5 separate regions of the Homo sapiens genome follow, and regions 1, 2, 4 and 5 are each linked to region 3. The links are contacts of gene promoters, found by promoter capture Hi-C in human tissues and cell types (Jung and others, 2019). All regions are on one chromosome and are shown on one strand. The core of a region is centred on a gene start or on the middle of the fragment in contact, and the rest is flanking DNA. Distances in the headings are between cores, read along the strand shown. Region 1 overlaps LARGE1 (LARGE xylosyl- and glucuronyltransferase 1). Region 2 overlaps SYN3 (synapsin III). Region 3 holds the start of SYN3 (synapsin III). Region 4 has its middle 75 kb from the start of LARGE1-AS2. Region 5 has its middle 30 kb from the start of LARGE1-AS2.

Region 1 (2,700 bases), core at 109-2,608, 220 kb after region 3:
TAAACTGAATGAATGAATGAGTAACCTAACAACATGAGAGGCACCTGAGACAGGTCCATGTGTGAGATGGCAATATGCCTCTAGAAGCTACAGAGAGACGGCAGGAAGCTGGGCATCTAGTGAAGGACTAGACAGGGCCCAAGAGAAGAGTTAGGAAGAGTATCCAGAGCTGGAAAGAAAAGCTTCATGAAATGAAAACAAGACAGAAGGGTGGGAACCCAAGAGCATAGCTGCAGGGAGAGAGGAAGTGGAAGTCTGGGTTCCATCTCATCCTGTGGGCAGTCTCTCCAAAGCAAGGGAGGCGCTAAGTGAGACTGAGTGTTCCGTGTGGCCAATGGGACACTTTCTGGCAGGGAATGCAACTGCTTCCTTCTTTTGCTTTTCTACCACTGAGGCTGGACTCCCCCCAAACCCTCAGGGAACTGGCCAGTGCAGCTGAATGGGCACTGGCCAATGGGTGGGCTTTGATCAAGTTGTGCTGTTGGGTGAGACAGCCAGGCTAGGGGAGGGCAGGAACTTGAACTTCAGCTCCATCAACACAGCAACTTCCATCAAAACCAAAGCCACTTAAATGGAAGAAAAATGAAAGGTGAAGCAATGCCATTTTCATGGAGTGTGGAAAAGGGATATTGCGGGAGATGTCAATTTCGGGCATGATCCAACAATTAGGCCCAGAAGCAGTTGCTTTTCCATTTGTGAACTTGCTGAATGGGCAGTCTTAACACCTGATGCCTTCAACAGAACTGGCACAGCACAGCTGATGGCCGTGAACTTGTATGAGGTTTTAAAGCACAATGGAGCCATCAGGCCAGGGTTCAAATCCCACCTCTGCCACTTAGGAGCTGAATGCCTTGCAGAACAAAATGCTTTAATTAGCCGTTAATTTCCTTTTGTGTCAACTGGGGAAAAGAATACCTATCTGGTTGAACTGCCAAAGAGCTTAAGTGAGAAAATATAAAGAGTCTGGCGCAGTATTGACATCTAAGAGGAATTCAATAAATGCTAGTTTTATAACAAAGTGGTTAAAAGCAATGGTTCTGGAGGCTGCCTGCCTGGGTTCCAATTCTGTCATTCAACAGGTATGGGTACATTAACTACTTGGCACCTTTGTTTCCTTCTCTTGGCAAAACGGACACAGCAATATCTACTTCATAGATTTATGATGATTATGTGACTTAATTCACATACAGTACTCAGAGTAGTTTCTGATATATGGTAACTCCTCAAAAAAAAAAAAAAAAAAAAAGAGAAAGAGAAAATTCTCTTTATTATTTCTCCTTGTTTGCTTCCCAGATATGATGTCAATTCCTGGTGGTCTTGCTCTCAGTGATATTGACAGCCATGTTATTGGTCATCCACCTTTAGAATCTAAACTCTCAGAAAATTATAATGTGAAAAGGAAGGGAAAACAATGGGGGAGACGGCGCCATTGCACTCCATTGTAGGGACAGCTGGGTCAGTTCTAGTCATCTGGCTGAGGAGGCAGCTTTGATCAGTTTAGCCTGGACACTGGCAGCTTGCAGAAAGGCTGGGCAGCACAGGGTGCAGTCAAGTTACAATGAACCTCTCGTTAAAACAAGCCCCAGCCTGTGAATGACCTATTGCCAAATGCCAGGTAGCCTCCTTCCCTGCTAAAAAAGGGATGGGAAGATGAGAGAGGTTTCCTAGGTACACCTTACAGGATGCTACTGGGGAGAAGAGATTTGGGGCACTTTGCTTTAAGCAGTGGTTCTCAAACTTGAGTATGCATTAGAATTATCTGGAAGACTGGTTCCAATTCCAGAGTTTCTGATGCAGGAGGTCTGGGCTAGGCTTGAGCCTCTGCATTTCTAACAAGTTCCTAAGTGATGCTGAAGCCACTGGTCCAGGGACCGCATTCTGGAGCCACCGCCCTAGAGGACTTGTAGGGGTGTGGATGTTTTCTCATTCCAGGTGTGGTAGGGAGCAGATTTCGGCTGCTCAGAGGCTGAAGAGTTTGTTATTTGGAGAGCAGGTGACAATAGCAATTTCTCGGAGACAAGGGCTGTAACTTAGCACTTGGCATGATGGCTGGCAAGCTGCTGGCCAGAGCAGCAATCACGGACACAGCAGGCCACACCCCAGCTCTTGTGGCCACAAATGTGGCTGTGAAATGAGTTCTCGGTTCACTGTGGTATGAAGACGGCAGGAAGGATGCCTTGGAAATGTGTCAGGTGCTCAGCCATCAGACTATGGCATTCATGGGAGACTTATATTAAGGTTTGGTTTGAAAGTCTCAATTCTGAGGAGCAAGTTTTTACTCTGCATCTTTAAACACTGGTTAAAAAAAAAAAAATTCAGGACTCAATCAGTAGCTGGATGGCATTCTGACTGAGAACACAGGTTCCTCAGACCTGGTACGAATCCAGGCTCTGCTATTTACTGGCTGTGTGTCATTGGGCAAGTTATTAAACTTCTCAGAGCCTCAGTTTCATTATCCATGCAATGGGGATGATAGTATCTGTCACATAGGTTTATTGTGAGAATTAAATATGTAATCACGGTGCCTGGCACATGCTAAGCACACAATAAGTGGTAGTTATTTCTTTCAGAAAAGAAGGAAGGCTTGGGTTGGGTGGGGGGTTACTAACTCTTCCAGGCCACTTTCCAGAATTCTGGATAGAGGAAGAAGCCTGGAGTTTGAGTCTTGGCTCTACTGGGACCTCTCCACTCCTCAGTTTC
Region 2 (2,700 bases), core at 153-2,652, 160 kb before region 3:
TCTTCATCTGCACTTCCTCCATTTGCGTATGAGAATAATCAATGTTTGCTCTGCCCCCCTCCCAGGACTTATCCATTCACTCCATTCCTCAACTATACATTGGGATTAATTGGATACCTGGCACTGCCGTAGGCACTGGGCTGTGGAGATGCATGAGACACATTCTTTGCTGTCACGGAGCTCATGGAGCCCTGGAAGAGACTCACATAGACAGAGACATTGCCAACATGGTAAGGAAAATGGTGAGGACACCACAGGAACAGAGAAAGGAGCCTTTGTCAGTTGACACAGTAACAGGGGCCCAGGATATTGTCTCCTGCAGGAGTCAACCCTTCAGTAGAGTCTTAAAAATCAGTAGAGTTTGGCAGTAAGTGGAGATTAGGAATTAAGGAACTCCAATAAGAGAACACTTGCATAAGCACTTTGTAGCTGAGTGACTGTCCACGTGTGGGGAAGGAGCATTTTCACTCCAGAGTCTGGTAAGACCTGAGCAAACCCAACTGGTCCACACCTCCACATGCTGTATATGCTATTCCTTTGGAATAGAATGCCCTCCTCTATTTTGTCTGCTTGGAAAATACCCACTCATCCTTCCAGTTGGCTTCAATATCCCCTTCTTCGCAAAGAAAGCCTTCTTTGAACATGGCAGTGAGCTGGCCTGTCCCTTGCTGGGCTTCACTGTATCACATACATTCCTCTCTCATGGCCCTCAGTCCTTCAACAGTGCACATTTGTTTCACAACTTGGTTTTCCACCAAGCTGTGAGCTCATCAAGAGCACAGATGATGGTACCTTCTTTCTTGCAATGTTATCACAGCCTATACTATGACAATCAGACAGTGGACACTCAATAAGCATTGGTCCAACTGGATCGAGTCTTGTTCTAGGGTAGACAAGATCCTGGGACCCTGTTACTGGCCTACTTGTGTGTCATTTATCCTCTGAAAGTCTTCACCTTGTAATACTTATGTCTTCTACGCAATAAACTGAGAGCAAGGGCCTGGTGAATCACTGCTAAGAAACAGAAATTGGAGAACTGTGGAGTAAAGGCTTCAGTCACCAAATTGTAGCCTAGAGAATAAAATGTCCTTCTCTTTTACATATTATAGAAGAAGAAAACAGTCAAGGGTCCTAATTCTGTTCCTACTACTGATTCTGTGACTTTGCACAGGCTGCTCTGATAAATGCTGTGGGTTGGCTAACCCAACAACTACAACCTTCCTCTCTTTTGTCTCTTTCTATTGCAGAGGGTGGAAATCCAGATATTCAATCTTGCCAGGCTCCCTTGTAGCTAGTGCTAGTGACACGTGACCCAATTCTGGTCAATGAGGCCAACACAGAAATCTGCTAAGGACTTCTGGCAAAGTGTCTTAAAGGAGGAGGCCTGAGAGGAGAAGAGCCACCAGGCACGACCCCGTCATCCTGACCTGACATTGACATGATGCCTCCACCTGTGGCAGTCAAGTTGGGACAGCAAGATGGTTCATCTTATGTGTCAACTTGACTGGGCTACAGGTGTTTAAACATCTGATTAAACGTTATTCTGGGTATGACTGTAAGGGTGTTTCTGGATGAGATTTGCATTTGGATCTATAGACTGAGTAACACAGGTTGCCTGAGCCATTGTGGGTGGGCTTCATCAGATCTGCTGGAGGCCTGCATAGAATAAAAAGCTGAGTAAGGGAGAATTCGCTCTCCCTGCCTGCCTGTTGAAGTAGGAGTTGTGAGTAGGAGGATAATGCCAATATTTCAGGTTTCTAGAAATGTAAATGATCCATAGTATAAACCTCCACCAACATGTAAGAAGAGGCAGATGAAAAATATTGAAGCATCGTTAGCATGAAAATAGCGGACCATTCAGCCGTAGTTTACATCTCAGCTGATATGAGTGACTGAAGAGAAGGCAGTTGAAGTGTCTGATGTGTAGTGCATGGCTAAGAATAATCCTGTAATGATCTGAAGGATTAGGCAGGCACCAAGGAGTGAGCCGAAGTTTCATCATATGGAAATGTTAGATAGTGTGGGAAATCAGTGAATGAGTAATTAATAATTTTTATTAGCAGGTGTGTTGAAAACTAGGACATCAGTCTCCTCCTGACTCTGGACTTAGACTGGGACTCACACCATTGGCTCTCCTGGGTCACCAGCTTGCCAACAGCAGATCCTGGAATTCTCAGATTCCATAATCCAGTGAGCCAATTCCTTATAGTAAATCTGTAGCTATACTTGCATGTACATCTATCTATCTATTTATCTATCATCTACTATTGGTTCTGTTTCTCTGAAGAACTCAGACTAATACAGACAGTATAGTATTGAGCATGATAACAAAATGCCAATAATCTAAGAATGACAGGAAAGAATGGCAAAGAGTGACCTGATCCTTGACAGCAAACCTCTCATTGCACCAAATCTGGAAACACCTAGACTCTTGCTATGTGAGAAAAAGAAATGTCTTTATTGCCTATGCCTCTACATGTCAGGTTTTCTGTTACTTGCAGCTAAAAGCATTCCTGACGCATGCAATTATCTCCCATCTCTAAGCCTTATTTCTCGGGTTACACAATGGCCTTAAATGAAACCGACAAACATTTCCAAGTGTCTCTTAGATGCACGGCTCTGAGTGAGGGGTTCAAAGGGAGCCAGCAGAGTAGAGCTTAAGAGTAGGAACTCTGGGGCTAGGCTGCTCGGCTTAGAAGC
Region 3 (2,725 bases), core at 197-2,696:
AAGAGCAGAGGCACCCTTCAGAGGCCTGATGACAAGACTGAGGTCACAGGCTCCAGAAACAATATCAAAATGATGTGCAGGCTGCAGAAGCAAGCATTACACGGGCAGCATCTCTTTGCCTGAATCCATGTCCAGAAGCCAGGGAGCAGGGCTCCCGGGCAGAGGGGGCTCCCTTAAGCAGGGAAGAGTATTTGCAGCCAAGGACCAGAAAACAACTACAACTTACCAGCTTTCTGATGCTCCGGCCTCCATCCATTGTCCCCAGAGCTGCCAGAGGGACCTGATCACTGATCAGAATTCTTCCACGGCCCTCCTTCATTCCAGGATAAAATTCTAAATATTCTAAGGCTGCACTTTAAGGTCTGTGCAGGTTTTAGCTTCCTGCCATGTCGAGAGCTCATTTCCTACCTACAGCAAGACCCGGTCCTACTCCATTATCTGCTGTAGAATTATCTGATGTGCTAGGTCAGGACACCGGACCTTTTCAGTTTCTTTACCTTTACACAAGAAAACCCACCTGGAATTCCTGCTCCCTATCAACTCACAGTCCCAACACACTTTTCAGCCTGGCAAAACCTCCGACTTCCAGTCAATGCTCACCTCCTCTCTGAAACCTTCCTGGCTTCCTCACCGTCCTCTTCTCCATCTCGAGTCTTCCGCACTACCCTGCACTGCAATTGCTCCTCCTACTGTCCCTCTTAGCCCCAGAAGCTCCCCAAAGGCCATTCTTCATGCTGCTAGGGCTTGGCACAGTTCCTGGCACTCAGAAAAAGCCAAGTAAGTGCTGGATAGATACACGAGGTGCTGTATCCATAGCTATTCTCTGCTTCTAGCTTGGCCAGGAAACCACTCTGAAATTTCATCCTGCCCCCAGGATGACTGGAAATCGGAAATGGCATGACAAACCTGACCTCCCAAACCCAAGGCAACAGGTCATGAGGGGTCTGGGGACCTAAGGCAGGTCCTAGGAGCCGGCGCAGAGCAGAGGTCCGGCCGCTGCGGTTCCTGGTTTCCCGCAAGCTCTTCCCCGGGCCGGGCGCTGGGTGGAGGCAGTCTTAGGATCCACAGTCTTGCGCGCCCCCGGCTCCCGGGCCCGGCAGACGGCCCCCGCACGCCGATCTGTCTGTCCCAGGGACCGGCCCAGGGCCCCGGCAGCGGCAGCCTGGGGAGACACCGTGGTGCGCGGCTCCTTGCCTCCCTCCCTGCCCCTCCGTGCGCCCGCATCCCGCGGACACAGAGCCGGAGCTCCAGGGGACGCAGCCCGACGCGAGAACGCACCAGCAGCCCCCGCTCGAGGTGGGGTCTCCCGGCTGTCAGAAACCCCACAAAGTCTACTTTGCGGCGCCGCGCCGCTTACCGTGCGAGCCGCCAGGAACTCGGCGCCCGGTGGTGCCTCGGCGCGGCGCCCGCCAGTCGATCCGCTCCGGGTCCCGGGAGCTCAGCCTCTGCCCCTCAACGCGCGCGAGCGCCCCCGCCCGGCGGCCCGGCCTCCCCGCGCCGCGGCGCCCCATTGGCTCGGGCAACGAGGCCCCCGGACGGCCCCGCCCACCCGCGCCCACTCCCTCGCCCACGCCTCTCCCCAACGCCTTGCTGGGTTCACCTCTCCAGGCAGGGAAAGTTGCTTCTAGACTCTGAGCTCTCACCGGACTCAGGAGCCCAGTTAGCTAATAATTCTGGGTCCCAGGAGTGTCTAGACGCCCCTCGGGGAGTGCGAAGAATGCAGTGTCCTTGGAATCCACCTTTGGGAAAGTCAGCTGACCTCCCGGACCTCAGGTGGCACCTCAGAGAAACCAGGGCCCCTTGTCAGGAAATGTCCCAGGTTGTGGGCTAGGCCCTAGGGCCAGGATGCAACAGGGAACAAGACAAAGTCTATCGTCCTCGTGGACTTTGCATGGGGTGGAGGTGGGGGTAGGTTATATACAACAAACGAAAAAAACAAGAGAATGTCGGCTGGGTGCCTGTGGCTCACGCCTGTAATCCCAGCACTTTGGGAGGCCGAGGCAGGTGAATCACGAGGTCGGGAGTTCAAGACCAGCCTGGCCAAGATGATAAAACCCCGTCTCTACTAAAAATACAAAAATTAGCTGGGCATGGTGGCCCTCACCTGTAGTCCTAGCTACTCGGGAGGCTGAGGCAGAATTGCTTGGACCCGGGAGGTGGAAGTTACAGTAAGCCGAGTTAGAGCCACTGCACTCCAGCCTGGGCAACAGAGCTAGATGCCGTCTCCAAAAAAAAGAAAAGAAAAAGAAAGGGGTCTAGGACTGCTATACCTAGGGTGGTCTCCGGGCCGCTTGTGATATTGGATACTTGGAGGACAAAAACGATTCCAGGGCTGAAGCAAGAGCATTGCTGACAGAGGGGTCGGCCGATGCATGGTTCTGAAGCTGGAACTGGCCCCCAGGGTGGCTGAGTGAGGTGAGCAAGGGGAGAGTGGGTTACAGCCAGAGAGGTAGACTAGTGTGGAATCACCATCACCCAGAACCTTGTAGGCCACCGTGAGGGTCAGGGCTTTGTCATATCAATCTGGAGGGAACAATTCAGGCAAGAGATTATGGTGATGAAGACCAGGGTGGTGACAGCAAGATACGGAAAAGGTGGACCTCCTGCAATGTGTGTCAAAAGTAGCACAGGAAGGCTTGATGATGGATTAGGCTGGATTTAGGGGATGCTATGGTTTAAATATGTTCCCCAAAGTTCATATCTTGGAAACTTAATCCCCAATGCA
Region 4 (2,867 bases), core at 114-2,613, 180 kb after region 3:
TCCTGTAAGTGGCTAGCCAGAGAACCTCAAAAACTGACATAATTGCAAAGAAAAAGTAATATATCTATAATCATAGGGCGTGATTTGACAATATCTGTCCTAGGAACTGATATATTTAGTATACCAAATATTAGTGGGAATTAGAACATTTAAACAATCTCATGAGCAAACTTGAGCTAATGGACAAAATAGAGAAATTTACCACCAAAGAAAATGCATTTGCTTTCTGGCTTATGTGAAATTATTGAAAAAATTGACCACAGAATAGCCCATAAGTAAAATCTCAGCAAGTACCAAAGAATAAATATTTTACAGTGCCATAAAATTAGAAATCAATAACAAGAATATAAAGCCACACTCACTTGGTAACTGAAAATACACATCTTTATCATTCATAGTTTGAAGGAAAAATTACAATGGAATTAGCAAACATTAAGCATCGTATAACAATGAAACCAGTACATACAGAACCCTTTGTGACATTACTGAAGTAGTGGTTCCTGGAAAATGTATAGCCTTAAATTCATATATTGAGAAATAAGGAACACTGAAAATAATTTAGGAAGTGGTTACATTTAAGAAGATCAAAGAGAAATAACAGATTAAATCCAAAAGGAATAGAATGGAAGCAATAATAAAAGTAAGAGTCAAAATTAATAAAATAGAAAAAAAATAAGATCAAATCAAAGTTATCTTCAAAAAACAAATAAATTAAAACTTTGGCAAGATTAATCGCAAAAAGGAGAGAGAAGGCAAAAATTAACCTTATTAGGAATGTAAAAAAAAAAAAACCTCAACAGACCTGCATATTTTATAAACCATAATAGAATACTATGCTAAACATTATTGTTTCTCTGTTCATGCTGGAATTTAAGGGGATGGGTACATACCTAGTGAAATTGCTGCATCAAAGGGTATATACACAGTCTACTTAAATACATATTGCCAACTTCTTTCCAAAGCAATTAGTGTAATTTACAGTCCTACCAGGAAGATAGTGCCCACTTACACACAGGCTGGCCAGCATTTAGTATCAACAGATTTTTGTTGTTGTTGTTTGAAACCAAACGGGTGTGAAATGGTATATCACAATGGTTTTAATTGCACTTTCCTGGTTATTAAGCTGACAATACTTCCATATGTTTCCTCTGTGAATTATCTTTTCACATCTTTTGTACGCCTTACTATTTCTTTTTTTCTTTTCTTTTTTTTTTTTTTTTTTTTTGAGACAGAGTCTCACTCTGTCACCCAGGCTGGAGTGCAGTGGCGCGATCTCGGCTCACTGCAACCTCCACCTCCCAGGTTCAAGTGATTCTCCTGCCTCGGCCTCCCGAGTAGCTGGGACTACAGGTGCATGACACCGCACCTGGCTAGTTTTTGTATTTTTAGTAGAGACAGGGTTTCACTATGTTGGCCAGGTTGGTCTCGAACTCCTGACCTTGTGATCCGCCCACCTCGGCCTCCCAAAGTGCTGGGATTACAGAGTGAGCCACTGCGCCTGGCCTGCACCCCTTACTATTATATGCTTTGCATTTTCTTTTAGATTTGAAGAACCTCATTATAAACTCTAGCACTAATCTTATGTCAGTTAAATGCATAGCAAATATCTCCTGACGTGGGAGAATATATATTTGCAAGTCTTCTTGTGAACATATGTTTTCAGTTCTAGGGAGCCAGACGCCTATGAGTGAAAAGCCTAGTCATCGTGGAGAAGTGCATTCAACTTTGTAAGAAACTGCCAAACCTTTATTCATAATGGTTGTATAAATTTTACATTACCACCAATAATGTATGAGAGTTCCAGTTGCTTCACATCCTCACCAGCATTTTGTTTTGTCTGTCTTTTTTCCTTTGGTTATTCTAGTGGGCATAAGATATAATAGTATCCCTTGTGGTTTAATGTAAATTCCACTGAAGACTAATAACATTTGCATATTTCTAATTAATAAGCCTTTTTAAGTGACTTTTCAAGTCTTTGCTCATTTTTATTAGATATTTGCCTTCTTATTATTGATTTGAAAGAATTATATTTATATGCTTATATTCTGGTTATAAGCCCTTTGTCATTATTTTCCAAAACAATATTTGGTTGTTTCTGTACTACTTTCCTTGCTCCTTTGAATTGACTTGGTGCCTTGGCCAAAAATCAATTGACCACATACATGTGGGTGCATCTCCAGACTACCACATTCCGTTTATCTATTTGTCTCTCCTTGTGTCAATAACACTCTGTCTTGATAATGGTAAGTTTTGAGATCAGGTTGTGTAAGTCCTCCTAATTTTTCCTGGGTTTTCAATATTGCTTTGCTTTTTAAAAATTTTGTATTTTCATTTACATTTTAAAATAAACTTGTTAGTGGGATTTTGATTGGCATTGCACTGAACTCGTGGATCAATTTGGGGAGATTGGACATTCTTATATATGGATCCCGTGGTCATCAACTTTAAGAACTCTTTCTCATCCATTAGTAACTCAATCTAGGTTCAGATGCTACTCGTTTTCTGCTCAGTCTGTGTCTGAGCCCCTTATGCTCTTCATTTTGTCATCCAATTAACCTCAGCTTTGCATCAATACTATTTCTTGCTTTGGTGCCTGTTACCTCTCCTCTAATCACCAATCCACAACTTACCTCCAAATTCAGGGCTTGTCTCATTCTTCCCAGGAGGAGTGCTGCTCAGTCTATCTACTTAGTATTATAATTTCTCTGGCTTGGTATCAAGGCACTCCCATTTCCGGCTTCCATGAGATGTCTCAGAGGGCATGCTGCCCGGTGTAGCTGCATGGTCAAGCTTCTTCATATCTCTTGCCTCATCACTTAAACTCACTATTTTGTACTCCTGCTTCAGCTATAGGGAGCTACTGTTAG
Region 5 (2,815 bases), core at 22-2,521, 140 kb after region 3:
TTAACATTTTGAAGTTGCATTTTAATTTTTCCATTGTCCTACTTTTCATTTTATTTGTTTTTATTTTTCACATATAACTTTATTCTGATTCTGTTTATGATGTGTGTGTGTGTATGTGTATGTGTGTGTGTAATACTCTGGATGCAATGAGGAAAAAAGAATAAAGAGGGAGAGACTGAGAGAGAAGAGTGTGGGTAGACAAAGGAATGAAAAAAGTATAGTTTAGTTAATTTCTGGATATTTTAACCTAAATCACTAAGTACAACCCATTTTATTACTTTTTAAAAATATTATAATCAGTGAAAAAGCAAGAGAGTTTAAGGAACGAATGGGCAGGAAACCATTCAAAGAATATTGAGAAAAGCAAAAAGAGAGACAGTAAAGAAATCAAAGGAAGAAATGATAAAATAGGAACATCACAGCAAATCACATATGAGTAGAGTGATAAAGAAAGAAGCAGAGATAGATATAAGAAATCAGGAAGATAATCAGAATGCATTAATGTGCTATACAGTGCATTACACATCTGGTTAACATAATATGGATGTCGGCCGGGCACGGTGGCTCATGCCTGTAATCCCAGCACTTTGGGAGGTCAGGCATGAGGTGGGCAGATCACTTGAGGCCAGAAGTTCAAGACCAGCCTGGGCAACATAGTGAAACCCCATCTCTACTAAAAATATAAAAATCAGCTAGGTGTGGTGGTGCATGCCTGTAATCCCAGCTACTCAGGAGGCTGAAGCATGAGAATTGCTTGAACCCGGAAGGCAGAGGTTACAGTGAGCTGAGATCTTGCCATTGCACTCCAGCCTGGGTGACAGAGTGAGACTATAAAAAGTAATTTATATATATATGTGTTCATATGTTTTATATATATTGTTTTTATATATTATATATAATGTTTTATATATTATATATGTTTTATATATTATATATGTTATATATATTAAATATGTTATAGATTATGTTTTATATGTTATATATGTTTATATTTTATATATAATTTTACATATATATAAAAACATAGATGTCACATTATTAAAACAATATATTATTTAACAAAATATGATAAATTTTATACTGTCTGCATTATTCATGTCATAAATTTTTATACTTACTTTTTATAATTCACAGTTATTTACATAAAGACTAAAAGAGAATTGGCCCCAATTTGACTTCTTCTGTTTCAAAATCTATGGTATAGCTAAATGAAATATGTTTCTTTGTCCAAAGTTATGGTGAAATTGTTTCCTGGGGTTGTTATGGGCATAAATTAATTGCAGAAGAAAGTGCTTTGAAAAGAGTTCTAAACAAAGATAAATGGCTTATTTTATTGCAATCGTCCTTAACATATAAACTTACCTGAGACTTGCACGGCATGAACTCTTAGTCATTCCTCAGATATCCAGACTTAAGGACAGAAGGTCATTTGCCAAGTTTTTTTTAGCTGTCATTTTCCTATCCCATCAATTTGATTTTCAAGGTTTAGAGATGGAGAGTTTATTCAATTGATTAAATTTTGGATTTTAGTCTCTTCTGAGCCTAATGTCTGGGTTATATGAAATATTTTTAGTATAGATATTAAGAGAAGTTGACATTGAATGTTAAGAACTTCTGTCCATCCACTTCTTGCAGTCTCTACTAAGATTAAGGGTCAAAACTGGGCCTTGGAAGTAGACAAAGTTTGGTTTGTTGCTTCTTCTCTGGCCTCTTCTCAAGCCCCACCCTGCAGGCCACATTCTTGAGATGCCAGGGACACGGAATGATAGTGCTGGAAGACTCCTAAACTTCCATATTCCAACTGCGTAATCTTACAGAAAGGGGAATAGAGAGCCAGAGTGAAGGAGTGACTTTTGCCAGACCAGTCAGCATTACACCTAGGTTGATAGAAAGAGTGCTTCTCTTGACTCTCAGCCCAGAGTCTTAACCATCTGCTATTCCCCAAATCTCTAGACAACTCATTGCTCCGATATTTTAACTACCCTGTCAACACCCTAAAGTTGCCCAAGGTTTTTCAGCTTGCTAAGGGGATAATACATTAAAGGAATAAATTAACCAACTATTTATTTTTTAAAATCTGTGTTCAAGCATTTATCAGGAAGTGGTGTAGTATATGTGCCTGTATCAAGTTATTAGAACCGTCATATCTCAATCAAGATTTAAATTGGTTACTTTTAGTATAGAAAAATACCCTTCTTTCAAACAGATGCTCTTAAATATAATAACTATATATCTCCAAAAGGGGTAAGTTGACAACTCCATAATTAGAGTAAGACATTTGGGCATTCCTCACTCAGCAACTGGTAAAATGGTAAGCAGAGAAACGATCTGAACATTATGAACTATTCTGAACTAACTGGTATCTGTAGAAAACTCGACCCAATAATTGCAGAATACATATTAATTTTAAGATTTTATATTATATTTATCATTATTGGCTATATTTGGGGTCATAAAATAAGTTTTATTAAATTAAAAGATTGAAATTACCCAGAATACTTATCCGACATCAGCAGAATTAAATTAGACACAAGTAACAAAAGGGTAACTAAGAAAACCACAAATATTTGACATTAAATTATAGATTTACAATAATGTATGGGTCAAAGAAGAAATCAAAAAAGAAACCAGAAAACTGTTTGAATTAAATGAAAATGCAAATATATCAAAATCTAGATGATACAGCTAAGGCAATGCTTAAAGAAATATTTATGACACTCTACACTTCTATTAAAAAAGAAGTAGTGCCTAAAATTAATTTCTTTTTTCTTTTTTCTTTTTTTTTTTTTTTTGAGACGGAGTCTTGCTCTGTCGC

Evidence for each region. Contacts are between HindIII fragments. The study calls those that stand out against the background at their distance.
Region 1: a fragment that was not itself captured here is called in contact with the fragment with the promoter of SYN3 in region 3 in 1 of the 25 tissues and cell types used here (lymphoblastoid cells).
Region 2: a fragment that was not itself captured here is called in contact with the fragment with the promoter of SYN3 in region 3 in 3 of the 25 tissues and cell types used here (IMR-90 fibroblasts, lymphoblastoid cells and thymus).
Region 4: a contact is called between a fragment that was not itself captured here and the fragment with the promoter of SYN3 in region 3, in 2 of the 25 tissues and cell types used here (dorsolateral prefrontal cortex and lymphoblastoid cells).
Region 5: a fragment that was not itself captured here is called in contact with the fragment with the promoter of SYN3 in region 3 in 6 of the 25 tissues and cell types used here (H1 embryonic stem cells, dorsolateral prefrontal cortex, heart left ventricle and 3 more).

The regions. Positions count from the first base shown.
Region 1 is chr22:33,279,091-33,281,790 of GRCh38, forward strand. All of the region lies in intron 13 of LARGE1 (LARGE xylosyl- and glucuronyltransferase 1), which reads right to left. Among named protein-coding and RNA genes, the nearest start is that of LARGE1-AS2, 120 kb to the left of the region's middle. The HindIII fragment of the contact is 6,242 bases long and covers 1-2,700 here.
Region 2 is chr22:32,893,164-32,895,863 of GRCh38, forward strand. The region is part of intron 4 of SYN3 (synapsin III); the gene reads right to left. Among named protein-coding and RNA genes, the nearest start is that of TIMP3, 93 kb to the left of the region's middle. The HindIII fragment of the contact is 4,957 bases long and covers 1-2,700 here.
Region 3 is chr22:33,056,935-33,059,659 of GRCh38, forward strand. SYN3 (synapsin III) reads right to left here and starts at 1,447. Exons shown (of 14, transcript NM_003490.4): 1 at 1,358-1,447. The HindIII fragment of the contact is 13,516 bases long and covers 1-2,725 here.
Region 4 is chr22:33,238,332-33,241,198 of GRCh38, forward strand. It overlaps a transcript of LARGE1 not described here. Among named protein-coding and RNA genes, the nearest start is that of LARGE1-AS2, 75 kb to the left of the region's middle. The HindIII fragment of the contact is 4,291 bases long and covers 1-2,867 here.
Region 5 is chr22:33,192,981-33,195,795 of GRCh38, forward strand. It overlaps a transcript of LARGE1 not described here. Among named protein-coding and RNA genes, the nearest start is that of LARGE1-AS2, 30 kb to the left of the region's middle. The HindIII fragment of the contact is 5,925 bases long and covers 1-2,815 here.